Regions from separate parts of the Homo sapiens genome. Here region 2 is linked to region 1. The links are contacts of gene promoters, found by promoter capture Hi-C in human tissues and cell types (Jung and others, 2019). All regions are on one chromosome and are shown on one strand. Each heading gives the region's core, a stretch centred on a gene start or on the middle of the fragment in contact. The rest is flanking DNA. Distances are from core to core; before and after follow the strand shown. Region 1 holds the start of BMPR1B (bone morphogenetic protein receptor type 1B). Region 2 has its middle 37 kb from the start of PDLIM5.

Region 1 (7,677 bases), core at 3,460-5,959:
TCTGTTTAAAATCCTCCAGGGTGTTCAACAGAATGTACTTTGAATAAAATACATATTTTATACTACGAACCTCGCCACCTCTCTGACCTCATTCCTATCACTTCCTCTAATTGCCTGAGTCCAGCCTCCCTGGCCAGTGAGTGCCTAGCTTGCTACTTTTAGAGACAACCCTAGTGCGTCCTCTGATAGGAAGTTCTTTCAGATCTTCACGGGGTTGGCTCTTTCTTGTTACTCAAGAATATCCTTACAGAGGCCTTCCTTGACCACCTCATATAAAATAGCCCAGTCACATGCTGTCTTATCACCCTGTCTTGTTTTCCTAATGGCAAATTTCACTATTGGAAATAATCTTATTCATGTGTTTGTGGATAGCTGATTGTGTTTTCACTCTCTACAAGTTCAATGACAGCAAGGATCTGTGTCTCTTATAGTCACAGTGTCCCCACAGTGTATAACAGTGCCACACACAGAGTAGGCATTCAAACATTTAAGTAAAAATGAATGTAATTAGAATATTGGCATGTAAGTGGATGTCCTGAACATCATGAAAACAAATTATTGCCTGATGTAAATTATACATTATCCCTTCTTACCACTGTGATGGGCTTTAAAAATACCCAGAAATAACATAACAAAATGTCCTTTTTGTCTACTCCTAAATCTTGGCTTCTCTCTGTACTCTATGCCTAAAAAGTTTTATTTTCACTCAATTTAAGTTATTAAGTCATATAAGCGACTTTTTAATCTACCTTTCTAGCCGCAACCCCTCCTTTCCCTGAATTCTGGCCTGCCTATACATATCTCAACAATTCTACTTCAGTTTCTGCCATCATATAAAATTCAGCATATGGAAACCTGAAATTATTAATAGTATCTCTAAGGCAAAATCAGTTTTTCCTTCTGTCTTTAATACTTTCACCAACCATCCTCTGAATACCCATATTTAAAAGCTAAAAATGATCTTGATTATGAAATTCAAGAACTGGAAGAGGGACTGGAGGACAACAAGTAAAGTGGTCTTCAAGTTTTTTTAAAGCTGTGTTAGCCTTTTTTAAAACAAAAGCTTACCAGGAAGTCTGATATGTAAAACAGATGAATTTGCAGTTGTTCTGGGAGTTAAACTGGTAGTCTCTGAAGAAAACTTCAAAAAGAACCACTAATCTGGTCCAAACTTCCTTTTTCTTCTCCCTAACCCCCTTCAACACACACACACACACACACACACACACACACACACACACACACACAGAATTATACAGCGGAAAATGTAAGTCCAGAGAGCTTAAATCTTCTTTGCAGGTAAGAAATAGTAATTCTGCCCAACACAGTTATCACCCAGAACAATGCCTACCACATAGAAATAATTTAGGAGTCAAGGTTCTTAAAGATCGGTGTTACCTCCATGCTTACATGCATCAGAAATGATTATCAGTTATTGCAAAGTGATACATTTCATGCACGGCTTTTATTGGATGACATGAAAAGAAATCTTCAGAGTTTAGAGTAAAACTTACAGCTTCTAATTATAGACATATTTACCCACTTCTAGTGAAAGAAGTCAAACATGAGTCCAGTGAAAAGAATTGTGGCACCGTGAAAAAAGTAAAGTCTCAATTCCATAGCCATCCTAGCCTCACTTTCTATTTCTGAGCATGGTTTTTCAAACTCTCTGGGCCTCATCCTCTTCATCTTTAATATTATTAATGTGTGTGATGACATGCTAAGACTCTTTCAATCCTAAGTCTATGATCTGCTATTACACTATTCTTAAGTATTTTCCTTGAGCTACTGCATCCACAAAGAATCAGTATCACAAGTTAGAGGTAATTTGGAAAAGAACCAATCGTCCTACAAGGATTTCTTGAGTATCTATCACATACCAGGTACTGTGCTGGGCATCTGAAATTCAGAGAAAAAGAAACAAGGGACACTATCTCACCTCAATGAGATAACAGTCCAACAAGGAAGCGCCAAGCAAGTAACCATACAGCACAGAGGTGGACACCGAAAGAGGGGCACTCAGAAGCCTGAGAGGCAGAGGCAGTGGTGAGGGGGCTTCTGAAAATCAGGAAGGCTCTGCTAGGTTGGAGTAGGTGACAACTGACTTTAGATTTGGATGATAAATACGATTTGAGTGCTCAGAAAGAGCTGGAGGAGGTGCTATATGTGGCAAAAGATAAGCACATTTTAAACTGCCTTATACTTTTAAACAAATAATAATAAATCAGCATTTACTGTAATAAAAATACTTTATCAGGCCATCTCACACAGTTCCCAAAGCTTATGAGGAAAAATTTAAGTCAATTTCCTTTTAATAAATATTATTTAACGACTGGAACATTTAGAGAAACATACATAAGCAGGCCGTGGCAGCACGTCACTCAGGGACAATAATCTAACAGGGAATTTCAGACAACCTAGCCTAGACTAAATGCTGGGCAGCACCTGGCAGACAAGGTGGCAAAGCCCCTATAAATAGTGATGATTCACTAACATGACATAAATCAAGATTTTAACTCACCAAAAACTAACATTTTGATTTAAAAACACAAATCAGTGCCATTAAAATTCATCAGCGGCCCCTAGCACATGAGTAATGAGATCATATCAACTTATATCATGTAACTAAAAGGAAAAGGTGGTTTTCTAAATGGTAATTCAGATTGGACAAATAACACACTGTATCAAGTTTTGTAGCTCTAGGCCATATTTTGCTAAACACAAAGGTACATTATGCATGACTAAAGAAAACAGTGAAAATCAGAGCAATTAATTTCCCAGCTATGTTTCCCATAAAAAGACATCACTACTATGATCTGCTTATAACACAAACTTTTTTGCATTGCACAATGATCTAAGTGTGTAATAACTTACATATTTCACTAAGATGTAACATCCTTCAAAACATCCTTATAATGAAAGTTTTCCAAAAACATTATTGATCACCGGCATGTCTCATGTTTTAAAATTACTGACGAATCCTTTACTATTTTCTTTACAGCTAGAAATAATTCTTCTTGATCACTAGAGTGTAAAGGGGTATAAAGTACAAAGACTGAATATTTTCTTAAATACTAACATCCCAGTTGACACAGGACATTTCCCATAACTTGCCCAAAACAATAATTAGGAGAGTTGTCACTGGAATCCTAAAAATATATGTAAGAAAACAGAGATTCGTTGGCATCAATTTAGCACAGCAAGAGATTTCCATTAAGTGCTTTTTCAAATTATTTGCAAACACTTTTTAGCTGAACCCTCTCATTTCCAGTGGAGCCTTTTATGTTTCTTTGCAGAACTCAAGAACCTTTTCTCAGGTGGCTCTGCTTTGCTGCAGGTAAGTTTGGTATTAACACATTTTCTTTATCTGTTGGAGGTAGTGAAACGGCTCTCTTCCTCCGTTGTCTTTCACTGGCACCTTTGTGGCCGCTCGTAGTCACTGACCTCACCTTGCTGGAAAGGTGGCTAAGAAAAGAGCAGTTTCTAATAACTCAAGGGAACTGCAGCGTTTCCATTCAGAACAAACAGCAGGACCCAGCTGGAGGGGTGCAGCTCTAAAGAAGTAAGACCCGCACCACAGCGGACAACTTCCAGAGGCTCTTCTCCAACACCGCCAAACACAGGCGGAAACACGGAGCCTGGACAGAAAGAGGGACGAGCAGAGAGATGGGCGCAGAGAGCAAGAGACAGGGGAGCCAGGAAGACCGGGAGCGAAAGCCTCTTGAGAGAGAGAGAGAGACCAAAAGATTGTGCGAAAGTGACAGAGGGAAGAGGATGAAGGGACAGAGGAGGGACACACTGGGAGAGCCAGAGCAGGCGGTGGGGAGAGGGAGACAGACGCACGGAAGGAAAGAGAGACCGGGGGGAGAGGCAAAGGATAGCAATAAGGAGAGGAAGGGAGAAAGGAAGAAAAGGGAGAGAATGAAAGACCCAGAACTTGAGAGAGAGGCATAGAGAGAGAGAAGCAGGAGAGAGAGGAGAAGAGACAGGCAACTGAAGCAGAGACGGAGCCCAGTCCAAGGCGCCGGGACCAGCCCGCTGCGCACTTTCCCCCACGGCAAGGCTGGGTCTCGGGAGGCGTCCGGGGCAGGTGGGTGCCTGCGGGTCCCGCCTGGGCTGGCCCTGGGCCCCCGCCCCGCCGGGCTCCCTCCCATTTCCCGGATTCCGCGACTGCCCTCAGCTCGCCCTCCCGCCCCATCCCTCCGCTCGCAGGTCCGACTCCCTGCCTTGGGGCGTCCCTACAGCCCGAAGCACGTGTCCCGCCCGCCGCCGCCGCTGCCCCGACTCCTCGCCTGCGCAGGCACGAGGCCTCGGGGTCCCGGCAGAGCCGCCCGCGCACAAAGCCGAGGCGGCCACCGCCTGACCCCCTCCCCGCCGCCGCCACCGCCCCACGGCCGCGCAGCCCGCCCTCGCTCTCGCCCTCTCCCTCGCGCGCTCCGTCCTGCCTAGGGCGACCGCCGCCCAGCTCCGCACCCAGCCGCTACCCGTCCCGCGCCGCCCCTCGCTCTGCCCGGCTCTCGCCGGCTCGGCCGCCTCCCGCGCGCTCGGGAACTCGGCCACCCGCAGGGGACGGGGCCCCGCCGCGCGCGCCTTACCCGCGGCTGCGCTCCCGGCTCCCGCGTCCTCAGCGCCGCGGTCTCCGCACTGCCCGGCGTCCCGCGAGGCCCCGCCGACTCCGCGCCCCGCGCCCGGCTGCGCCGTCAACTTCTGGCCGCCGCGGCCGCTCCGCCGCCGCCGCCGCCGCCACCGCGGGACTTTTTTTTTTTTTTTTTTTTTTTTTCCCTCTCGCTCCTCGGCTGCCTCTGGAATTTTTTTTTTTCACTTGCCCTCTCCAGCTCCCACTAGTGATTGGAGACTGAGAGCCAAGTACTTAGCGGAGGGATTACACTTCTCAACGCACTTGGAGCGGCCCCAGCGCCGCCGCCTGTGTGCGGAGTGCGGAGCCGACTTGGGGAGCGGCGGGGTGCGGGCCGGAGGCAGCCCGGGTACAGGGGTGCGCTTCCCAAGCCCCGTCCGCTGCTCAGAGCATCCCCAAGATTTCCCTCATGGGTCCTGTCCTGGTTGTTTAAGAAGGTTTCCAGAAAACCTCCTGGTTTGAAGAACAAAGATTCGTGGAATTATTGTACCTTGAGAGCTGGAAAGGGCTCGCAGAGATGATATAATGTCGTGGATTTCAACTTTTCGGGGCCATAGACACTTTTCAGAAATTGATAAAACGTTGACACACCTTGTAAAAAATGAACACATTAAAATTAAGCCTGCAGTTTGAGGTGGGGGTTTTAAGAATCTTGAAATATATACAGTTGAGCGTCCAAGGGAAATGAAATATTTCCCTTCTACATATTTTTTGAAACCGTTAAACGAAAACAACCACCAAAAAATTAAAAATAAAAAAATAAAACCCAAAAGAGAAAACCCATTCCATTTGTATTTGATGACAGTTTACAGTTAGTCGTGTTTCTTTTGGAAAAGTATGTAACGTCTTATACTTTGTGGTCTCCTTGCTAAGTCTTTAAGTGTTGAAACACTTTCTAAGTGGGTAAATATAAAGTAAGCTAGTTCACAGTCAGAAATTTGGGGAGAATAGTTAACCTCTTTAAAATCAGCCATTTTGCCAACTCTATTTCCCAGGGAGATATCTCGTGACTTCCAAATACTCTTTTCCTTTCAATACCTTTCAGCTTCCCACTCTCCAGCATTACTTATTTTCTCCTTCTGTAAAATTTTTTTCCTCCAAAATATTGACAAACAGTCTCTGGTCACCACCAAGTGTGTGATCTAAGTCATTTTTTTTTTTAACAGTTTTTCACCCTGAAGTAACTTTCTTCCAATTTTCTTCATATCTATTTCTATATTCAATTCTTAGCCTACTATTTTCTTTCAACTACTCCCTTTTCTTAAATTGTTTCTATTAAATCTTTTTTAAACATTAAATGTAATCTTTTTGCACTTATCAATAAAAAATTCATTTGTGTATCAATTTATTTTATGCAGCTTGCACTTAAAGCAGGCGGTGCCCCCAGTGTTTATTGAGTGTATGAAGATGTGGTCATGTTTTTTCTATAAAAGCAATGTTAGAGTCTCCACAAAGGTCTTTTTGCCCCATGATATATCTGCATTGTGATTTCTAATGCCAAACTGGAAGAAGAAAGGTATCTGAAAGAAAATTTCCAAAACAAGTGAAATTAGTCATTGACATCATCTGACCTTCCTTATTCAACCACTGTTCCAGTCCCCAGTACCAGTACTCATCCTCTTGCCCCAAGAATTCCAAGATAAAATCCATTCATTTTACTCTCATCCCAATTCTTCTCTGATACCCTCACTCCCACCCCTTCCCTTTTCCACCTCCTTTCTTTCAAAACAATAAAGCATATGACTACCTAAATTACCTTCTACCTGGTCCTCAATCCAATTTTTCATCATCTCCATCCTCATATTAACTAAGTGTTTTGTGGGGAGAAGGGGGCTTGAAGACACGGAAATTATAACTTCTACACCATTAAAATAAAAGACAAAGCAAGGAATTATGAGCTATTATGTAATTAACTAAAAATAATAAATTATCGAAAATGAAATGTGAGTTTAGAAATATGAGTTTTAAATATTGAAAATAAGATACCAAATTATAATTCATTACAGAGCTTATGATTGTATACATAGAAAAGCTTAGAGAATTTACTGGAAATCCATAGAACTAAAAATGTAATGTGTTGATCATTGTCAATATCTCATCAACATTAAGCAAGTTTAAAGAGGAAAGAAACCTGATTGAATCTATCCTTTCTACTGTGTGAATTACTGATAATTTGTATTTGACAGCTGTATAATCTCCCTTAGAATTGGAGCACTCATAAACTGCAGTGAAATAAAGCAGACATTATGCAGAATGTTTTGGAGCTAGTGGTATTGTCACCTGTATCTTTTCAGAAGTTGCACTAAGGATTATCTTTCCTTGGCTTAACTCCTCCATTCAGCAAATATCCTTCAGAGAATCTGCTGGGTATAAGATACTGATTCAGGGAATACAGGCATCTCTGGATAGAGAAGACACAGATTCCACTTCAATCAACTTGCAGACAAGGAGACAGATTTTTTTAAATACCTTGTTTAAATATATTTTTTAAAATTCCAAATCAGAGAACAAAGGAAATTCCTGTAGGTCTTTGGGATGAAAAAAAAAAAGCACTCCAGGTGGGAGAAAATGGGGTACAGGGGAAACTGTGTTTGAGGTGGGCCTTAGATGGTAACATTTCTGTAAGCAGGAATGGGGAGCCTTGGAAAGAAGCTATTCAAAAATCAACATTTTTGAGTGCCTATGACAAACCAAGTCCTGGTATTTGAGAGGCAAACTCTGTCCATTCCTTCTTGAAACTCATAATACAGAAGAAACAAGATACTTAAAAAATATATAGAACTTTCTATGAGAAGTGCATTAATGCATGAACACACAATTTTTGGAGCATAGAAAAATGAACTATTCTGCCTAGAAATCTCAGGAAAACCTTCCTAGAGTAGTCACATTTCATAAGGGTCCTGAAGGATCTTTAGAGATCAAAGCGGGGCTAGAAAGAGAATAAACATCCTAAGCAAGGAGAACCCTATGAAAAAGCATGGCGTGTTTAGAGAACAGCTGGTATCTCAGTGCTGCTATCCAAGTGATGAGGAGAAGGTGCA
Region 2 (7,677 bases), core at 2,519-5,018, 340 kb after region 1:
GTTCAATGTAACTCAAACTCCCAGTCTCAAATGATGCTCCATCCTTGGGCTTCCAAGGTGCTGGGATTAGCAGGCTGAGCCACAGTGCACAGCCTAATTTTTTGATTCACATTTATCTAGTCTTCATTTCCAAATATTAGTCTTTAAGAGGCCATAAAGTAAAGGAAATAACTAGCTTTTCACCTAAATTAGACTTCAGAATGCTAACAATGAAAGAACAAGTTTCATATCAAAACTCGCTCATCAATAGCAGGGAACCAATATCTTGAAATAACTATAAAAGGAATTAAATCACAGGTTATTGAAATTAGAATGCTGTTTCAAATATACTTGATCAATTAACCACTTGAATGCACATCTCCCAAGTGTAAAAATTTTAATTTGAAAACTCAAAAGCTTATATGGTAATCAAATGTAGAAATAAAAATGGCAAAGTATGTGAGAAATACTTGAGACTTGTTTAAGGAGAAAAACCTGAATGTAATATTTCCATTTGAGACTAAGAGCAAAATCAAGATATAGACAAACAGATGAAATATTTTAGAGGCAGAACATTATGAATAGTGAAAAAATAACCTTTTCCTTGAAAATGGACTACAATTAAGAGCTAAAAATCCTAAATTGTTTCCACATTTTAGTAGACTTAAGCAGATCACAACAGATCAGTACTAAAACTACACTTCTAGAGTGTTAATTATATGACTAAATTGACATATAAGTGTCAGTTGCTGAGCTCCTAAGTGTTTAAGTTGATCACTTGAAAATTGAAGTTCAAGGTCATTTTTCATGTGCGCATCTGAGACCTGTAATTTAGAATAGTGAGTTATAGTATAAGGTGCTAAAAATAATGTCTTTAAGGGGATAGTAATGTCATAGTCTCCCAATTTTCCTCATGAGAAAGTTCAAGAATCTGAAAAAATAACCTCTATTCCCCATGGCATACATAGATGAAGTATTGTATTAGTCAGGGTTCTCCAAAGAAACAGAACCGATAGAATGTATATGTATATAGAAAGAGACTTATTATAAGGAGTTGCTTCACAAGATTATGGAGGCTGACAAGTCCCAACATCTGCAGGGTGAGATGGCAAGCTGGAGACCCAGGAGAGTTGATGCTGTAGTTCCAGTTTGAGTCCAAAAGCCTGAGAACCAAAAAAGCTGATGGTGTCATCCAATCTGAAGACTGAGAGGCTGGAGGAACAGAAAGAACTGATGTTTCATTTTGAAGATAGGTATGCAGAAAATTTTCCTACTAAGGAGAGGGTCAGTCTTTTGTTATATTCAACTGATTGGATGAAGCCCACTCACATTAGGGAGGGTTAATTTGCTTTACACAATCTACCGATTTAAACTAATCTCACCCCAAAACATCCTGACAGACACACACAGAGTAATGTCTGATCAAATATCTGGGCACCCTGTGGCCCAGTCAAGTTGACACATAAAATCAGCCATAACAAGTATGATGACTGGAGTAACTGATCACACTTTCTCCACTCAGATGTCCATTGCATTGAAGCAGTAGCAGTAGCACAGGTGGAGGGAGGAGTTACAACATGGTCTAAGTTGTCAAACTACCTGTGTTTGAATCCTGTCTCCTTAACTTATTCCTGGTGATCTTGGACAAGTTTTTGCTACATGTTTCTGATTCTTGATTAGTAAATTACGGATAACGATGGGTCCTACCTCATACTATTATTAATGTTGTGAAGAATAAATAAGACATTACATATAAACCACCTAGAAGAATAACTAGCACATAGAATGGATTCCCCAATAACGCATTATAGTACACAAAATTCATTGAAATGAAATTCTTTTCAAAAATCATTGCTTCAACATATTTTCCTGCCTTTAAAAATCATTGCTTCAAAATAATAAGAACCATGTATGACAAACCCATAGCCAATATCCTACTGGATGGTGAAAAGTTGAAAGCACTCCCTCTAAGAACCAGAATAAGACAAGAATGTTCACTCTCACCACACCTATTCAACACAGTACTGAAAGTCCTAGCCAGAGCAATCAGGCAAAAGAAAGAAAGAAAGAAATAATATCCAAATTGGAAAAGAGGAAGTCAAATTATATGTTTGCTGATGACATGACCGTATACCTAGAAAACCCTAAAGGCTTCTCCAAAAGACTCCTAGACTTAATATATGACATCAATAAAGTTTCAGAACACAAAATTAATATCCAAAAATCGGAAGCATTTCTGTAAACGAATAACTTTCGACCTGAGAACAAAATCAGTAACTCAATCTCATTTACAATGGACACACACACACACTCAATAAAATACCTAGGAATACATTTAACCAAGGAGGTGAAAGATCTCTACAAGGAGAACTACAAAATGCTGATAAAAGAAATCATAGATGACACAAACAGATGAAAAAACATCCCATGTTCATGGCTTGAAAGAATTGATATTGTTAAAAGGACCATACTGCTCAAAGCAGTGTGCAGAGTCAATGCAATCCCTAATAAAATACCAATGTCATTTTTCACAGAATTAGAAAAAAAAACCCTAAAGCTCATGAAGAACCAAAAAAAGGCCTGAATACCCAAAGCAATCCTAAGCAAAAATAACAAAGCTGGAAGCATCACATTGTTCCTCTTCAAATTACACTACAAGGCTATAATTATTACAACAGCATATTACTGGTACAAAAATAGACCTATAGATCAATGAAACAAAATAGAGAACACAGAAATAAAGCCACTTACCTACAACCAACTGATCTTTGATAAAGTCAACAAAAATAAACAATGGGGAAATGATAGCCTATTCAATAAATGATGTTGGGAAAATTGGCTAGCAATATGCAGAAGAATGAGATTGGACCCTTATCTCTCACCATATGCAAAAATTAACTCAAGGTGGATTAAAAAGTTAAATGTAAGACCCAAAATTATAAAAATCCTAGAAGAAAACCTGGAAAGAACTCTCGTGGACATTGACCTAGGGAAAGAATTTATGATGAAATTTCCCAAAAGCCAATGAAACAAAAACAAGAATAGACTAATTGGACTTAAACTAAAAAGCTTTTGCACATTTGGGAGGCTGAGGCAGGCAGATCACGAGGTCAGGAAATTGAGACCATCCTGGCTAACACAGTGAAACCCCGTCTCTACTGAAAATACAAAAAATTATCTGGGTGTGGCAGTGGGCGCCTGTAGTCCCAGCTACTCAGGAGGCTGAGGCAGGAGAATGGCATGAACTCGGGAAGCAGAGCTTGCAGTGAGCCGAGATCACACCACTGCACTCCAGCCTGGGCGACAGAGCGAGACTCTGTCTCAAAAAAAAAAAAAAAAGCTTTTCACAGCAAAAGAAATAATCAACAGAGTAAATGGACAACCTACAGAATGAGAGAAAATATTTACAAATTATGCTTCTAACAATAGACTAATATCCAAAAATCTACAAGGAACTCAAACCACTCAACAAGAAAAAAGCAAACAACCCCATTAAAAAATGGGCAAAAGACAGGAACAGACATTTCTCAAAAGAAGACTACAAGTGACCACCAACTGCATGAAAAAATGCTGAACATCACTAATGATCAGAGAAATATAAATTAAAATCGCAAATGAGATACCATTTCACATTAGTCAGCATGGCCATTATTAAAAAGTCAAAAAATAATAGATGTTGGTGTAGATGTGGACAAAAGGTAATGCTTATACATTGTTGGTGGGAATGTAAGTTAGTTAAATCTCTATGGAAAACAGTTTGGAGTTTCTCAAAGGACTAAAAATAGAGCTACCATTTGACACAGCAATCTCACTGCTGGGTATCTATTCAAAGGAAAAGAAATTATTCGTTCCAGCCTTCCCTTCTCCTCTCCATGTAAGAAAAGCTATGTATTTGGAAAACTGGATTTTGGGTTTTGCTTATATCAAGTCAGGCAAATGTGCAAGAGGAGGGAGAGAAAGAAAGGAAGTGGGGGAAAAACAAAATTTTTTGAGCTGAGTATCCGGGTTGAGTGAGTCGTGGGGAAACGAAGGTCTAGAGGATCTGCAAAGTGTAGGGGTACTACCTGGAGTAGGCTGGCCTGTTCTTCACACTACATCTCATCTCTTCCTGCTTTAGGCTCCCCTCCTGCTTTATCCTACTGCCTTTGATTTTGCTGAAGTGTGAGTTCAAACTTTAGTGCCTTGCTGTACTTGCATTTGTCCCCTCATTTCTTTGAACAGACTTACAGCTAGATTCCCTCCTGGCTTGGTACAGTCACTGATCTCTGTTATTTAATGAACCATCTCTGGTATGTCTTCAGAAATGACCTTCCTCCTATGACCCCCCACCCCAATAATGCTAGCAGCCTGAGCTGGGAGTGGAGCACCCAGGCCTCACCTCCCAAGCCCTGGCCTCAGGTGTGCTGGGTGTTAGAGTAAGAACAAAGCTTAGTTGATGTTAATTACTTGATAAGTTTGTACAATAACGATATCTTATATGTATTGTTACCTGTGGCTTACATTTACAATTATTTTCTGATATCTTACTATAAGACAAATAGCGTTTAGGATGATTAAAGGTGAGAGAAGCTGAAGGGCAAAATATTAGTCAAGTGGTCAATTACAAAGGCTTATAATAGGAATGGCTCCAAATGGAAATTGGTGTGTCAGAAAGATACCTATAAAGAAAACGAGCAAGGTCTGGTAACCACAAAGATAAGGGGGGAGGCAAAATAGTACTGTGAGGTTTTAATAAAAATCTCACAAAACCTGTTGTAAGATTTTACAAGGTGTAATGGCAGGACAGTGGCATAACTGTGGAATATGATGGCAGAGGGTGGTAGATTTGGTAGAGACTAAAACTGATTCAACAAAATTTGTGTTTGCCATGGTCAGTTTGACCCAATGATGGTAATATGTTGCAAAATTGGGTCTATGTTGGAAGTAGAAAAGAAGATAAGCAGATTTATTTGATTATCTTTCTAAATATTCTCTGAAACCACAGGATGAGAATGTTCCTTCAGTAGAGAAAAATGAAAACACTATAGTTGCTTCAATGCTATGCCTCTGAAGAGATGGCCAAACAATTCTGATTTATGGAGAGCTACATAAAATCTTTTTTAAAAAGATACCATGTTTTCTAAAATTCCAACAAAGGCAAGAAAGCAAAATAAACTTTAGCTGACCTTTTGCAAGAACTATCATTAAAAGAGGTTTCCGGAGTTAGTTGAGGGCAGTTTGTTTATATGAGGGAAATGGCCATGGATTATCACCTACTGTGTGAGTAAATGTCTATTTTTTATTCAGATTTCAGAAATAAACTGTTGCTCATGCCTAATAATGTCTTCTATGAGGTTTAACAATCTAGGTTAGGGAGAGGATCAATTTCACAAGCTAAGAAAAATCAAATGTTATGCCAAGTCAGGACAGATCCTTCTGAAGTGTTGATATTGATTCTACGGATTACAGGACTAACTTGCATGCTAAATAAGGTAGAATCTTTCAGAGTTTCAGTCTTGCACTCAGATTCTAGTGTTTTCTGATGGTAACACATTTGGAAGGGAGAGTCAAGTTGCTGGGTTTAGCTTTGACTTATTCCTTTGCATGATCTTTGAAGTTCATAAAGGGATATCTATTTTAAAAGATTTTCAAAATGACATTTATTACGTGTGTCTGTGTGCAAGGCTTTATGTTGGGTGCTTTTGCTAAAGGAGTAAAGGTTTTAAAAATACCATTCTTTTACAGTGTAAACAGGAAAGATTTTGAGTGGGTGGATTAGTCAGCGGACAGAACAGGGGAAAGCATTTGGGGATGAAGACTTATTATGGAAGTACAAAGTGAGAGAAATGACATTTCTTGGCTCTGTTCCCAGGATTGTTTGCTGGACGCAGTTTGCATGTGAAACGGGCAGCATTCACACCCAAAAGTACCACCTTCTAATCAACCGGTAGTGCTTTTAAGTTTACGTGTGTTAGTGTTTCAAAAATCAAAATTCCAAAGGGCTTTATTAACCTTTGATACACTTGTCAAAGGCAAACATAAAAAAAAAAAAGCAATCCCGAAGAGCCTCACCATTTTCCTTCCTGTTATCTATGTAAGATGAATATGCTTTTCCAAAAGCAAATCAGTAACTTTTTCTTACGTTGTTTTGAAGACTAACATGGCTCACTCTCAATTATCAAATCTGTCCTGAAATAATTATCAGTGAGTCATGAAATGACCTTCTTAAACTGAGTCTATGTCACTTGATCTGTGTTTCCAAAGTGTAAGGTTAATTTTCCATGTCCTTGAACCTTAGTCATGTTAAGTTAGGCTACAGAAAAAATGGGGAAAACAAATGAAATCCTCTACATAATCCTAGAGATGCTTACAAGACTCAGAGGTTTCAAGGATGGTATGAAAATCATTGCAAACTTGTTTACATTAAAATTCCCAGTAAAAATTTGGAATTGCAGTAACTGAGGAAAACAGGAAAGGCGGGATTTTGTAGACACTTAACCTCCTTTGTAGCTTTCAATGGCAGAGTATCAGAAGAAATAACACAGGTCATGTGTCAAGAATTTTAAGAAGAATGTTTTTAACATTAAAATTTAATGTATTATCTACAATTGCTAGATAAGATTACTCCTACTGTGGTAACTGGCAAGAAACAATGTGAGTAGAGGCGTGAGGAAAATTGGAATATAAGAGAGAACTGACAAGTTTACAATATTAAAAATGATATTAGGGTGGGCATGGTGGCTCACGCCTGTAATTCCAGCACTTTGGGAGGCTGAGGTGGGCAGATCACTTGAGGTCAGGAGTTTGAGACCAGCCTGGCCAACATGGTGAAACCCTGTCTCTACTAAAAATACAAAAATTAGCCAGGTGTGGTGGCGGGCACCTGTAATCCCAGCTACTCAGGAGGCTGAGGCAGGAAAACTGCTTGAACCCTGGAGGTGGAGGTTGCAGTGAACCAAGATCACATCATTGCACACCAGCCTGGGTGACTTTGTCTCAAAAAAAGAAAAAGAAAAGAAAAGAAAAGAAAAATATTAGTGAGGACAAAAATGTCCACTTTAACACAAGGGAAAACATTTTCTGTGTCTAAAGGAAATAAAAATGAAATGGCTTCCCCAGATCAAAAAGCCTAGACAAATGATTCAAGCTAAGCCCTGATCCTACTTCTGAATTCCAACTCAGGCATAGCTTAAGAGTTACAGTAACTCTTCTAAATTCATCAGAGGAGAGAGTTGAAACATGTTAAGGCTTTGATTTAAGAAGCTTTTCAATTTTAAAATTTATAGTTTTAATATAAACTATATTATATATATATATAGTTAAGTAACTGTTCATGGAATTGGTTTTTCAAGAAAATATTTATTCTTTATTAATAAGTTAGAAGTCACCATGAATCAGACCATCATTCTGAAATATTGCCAACCAGCATGTTTCTTTTCCTTCCTTCCTTCCTTCCTTCCTTCCTTCCTTCCTTCCTTCCTTTCTTTCCTTCTTTCTTTCTTCTTTCTCTTTCTTTCTTTTTCTTTCTTTCCTTTCTTTCTTCCTTCCTTCCTTCCTTTTTCTTTCTTTCTTTCTGACTCTATGTTAATCTTCTCTGCATCGTTCAAATTTTAGTGTATGTGCTGTCCAAGGCCTCCTTCTCAAACTTATGTGGGAGAAGGCAATCAGGGAGGGGCCGGACAGCCTCGTCCTCACTTGCATGGTTGCACGGAATTACGA

What was found. Contacts are between HindIII fragments. The study calls those that stand out against the background at their distance.
Region 2: a contact is called between a fragment that was not itself captured here and the fragment with the promoter of BMPR1B in region 1, in 1 of the 25 tissues and cell types used here (mesenchymal stem cells).

Annotation. Positions count from the first base shown.
Region 1 is chr4:94,754,987-94,762,663 of GRCh38, reverse strand. BMPR1B (bone morphogenetic protein receptor type 1B) reads right to left here and starts at 4,709. Exons shown (of 13, transcript NM_001203.3): 1 at 4,596-4,709. It overlaps BMPR1B-DT (BMPR1B divergent transcript), which reads left to right and starts at 5,131. Exons shown (of 3, transcript NR_121610.1): 1 at 5,131-5,270. The HindIII fragment of the contact is 6,502 bases long and covers 1,673-7,677 here.
Region 2 is chr4:94,410,933-94,418,609 of GRCh38, reverse strand. No RefSeq gene overlaps it. Among named protein-coding and RNA genes, the nearest start is that of PDLIM5, 37 kb to the left of the region's middle. RefSeq lists a silencer at 5,638-5,932. The HindIII fragment of the contact is 4,092 bases long and covers 1,723-5,814 here.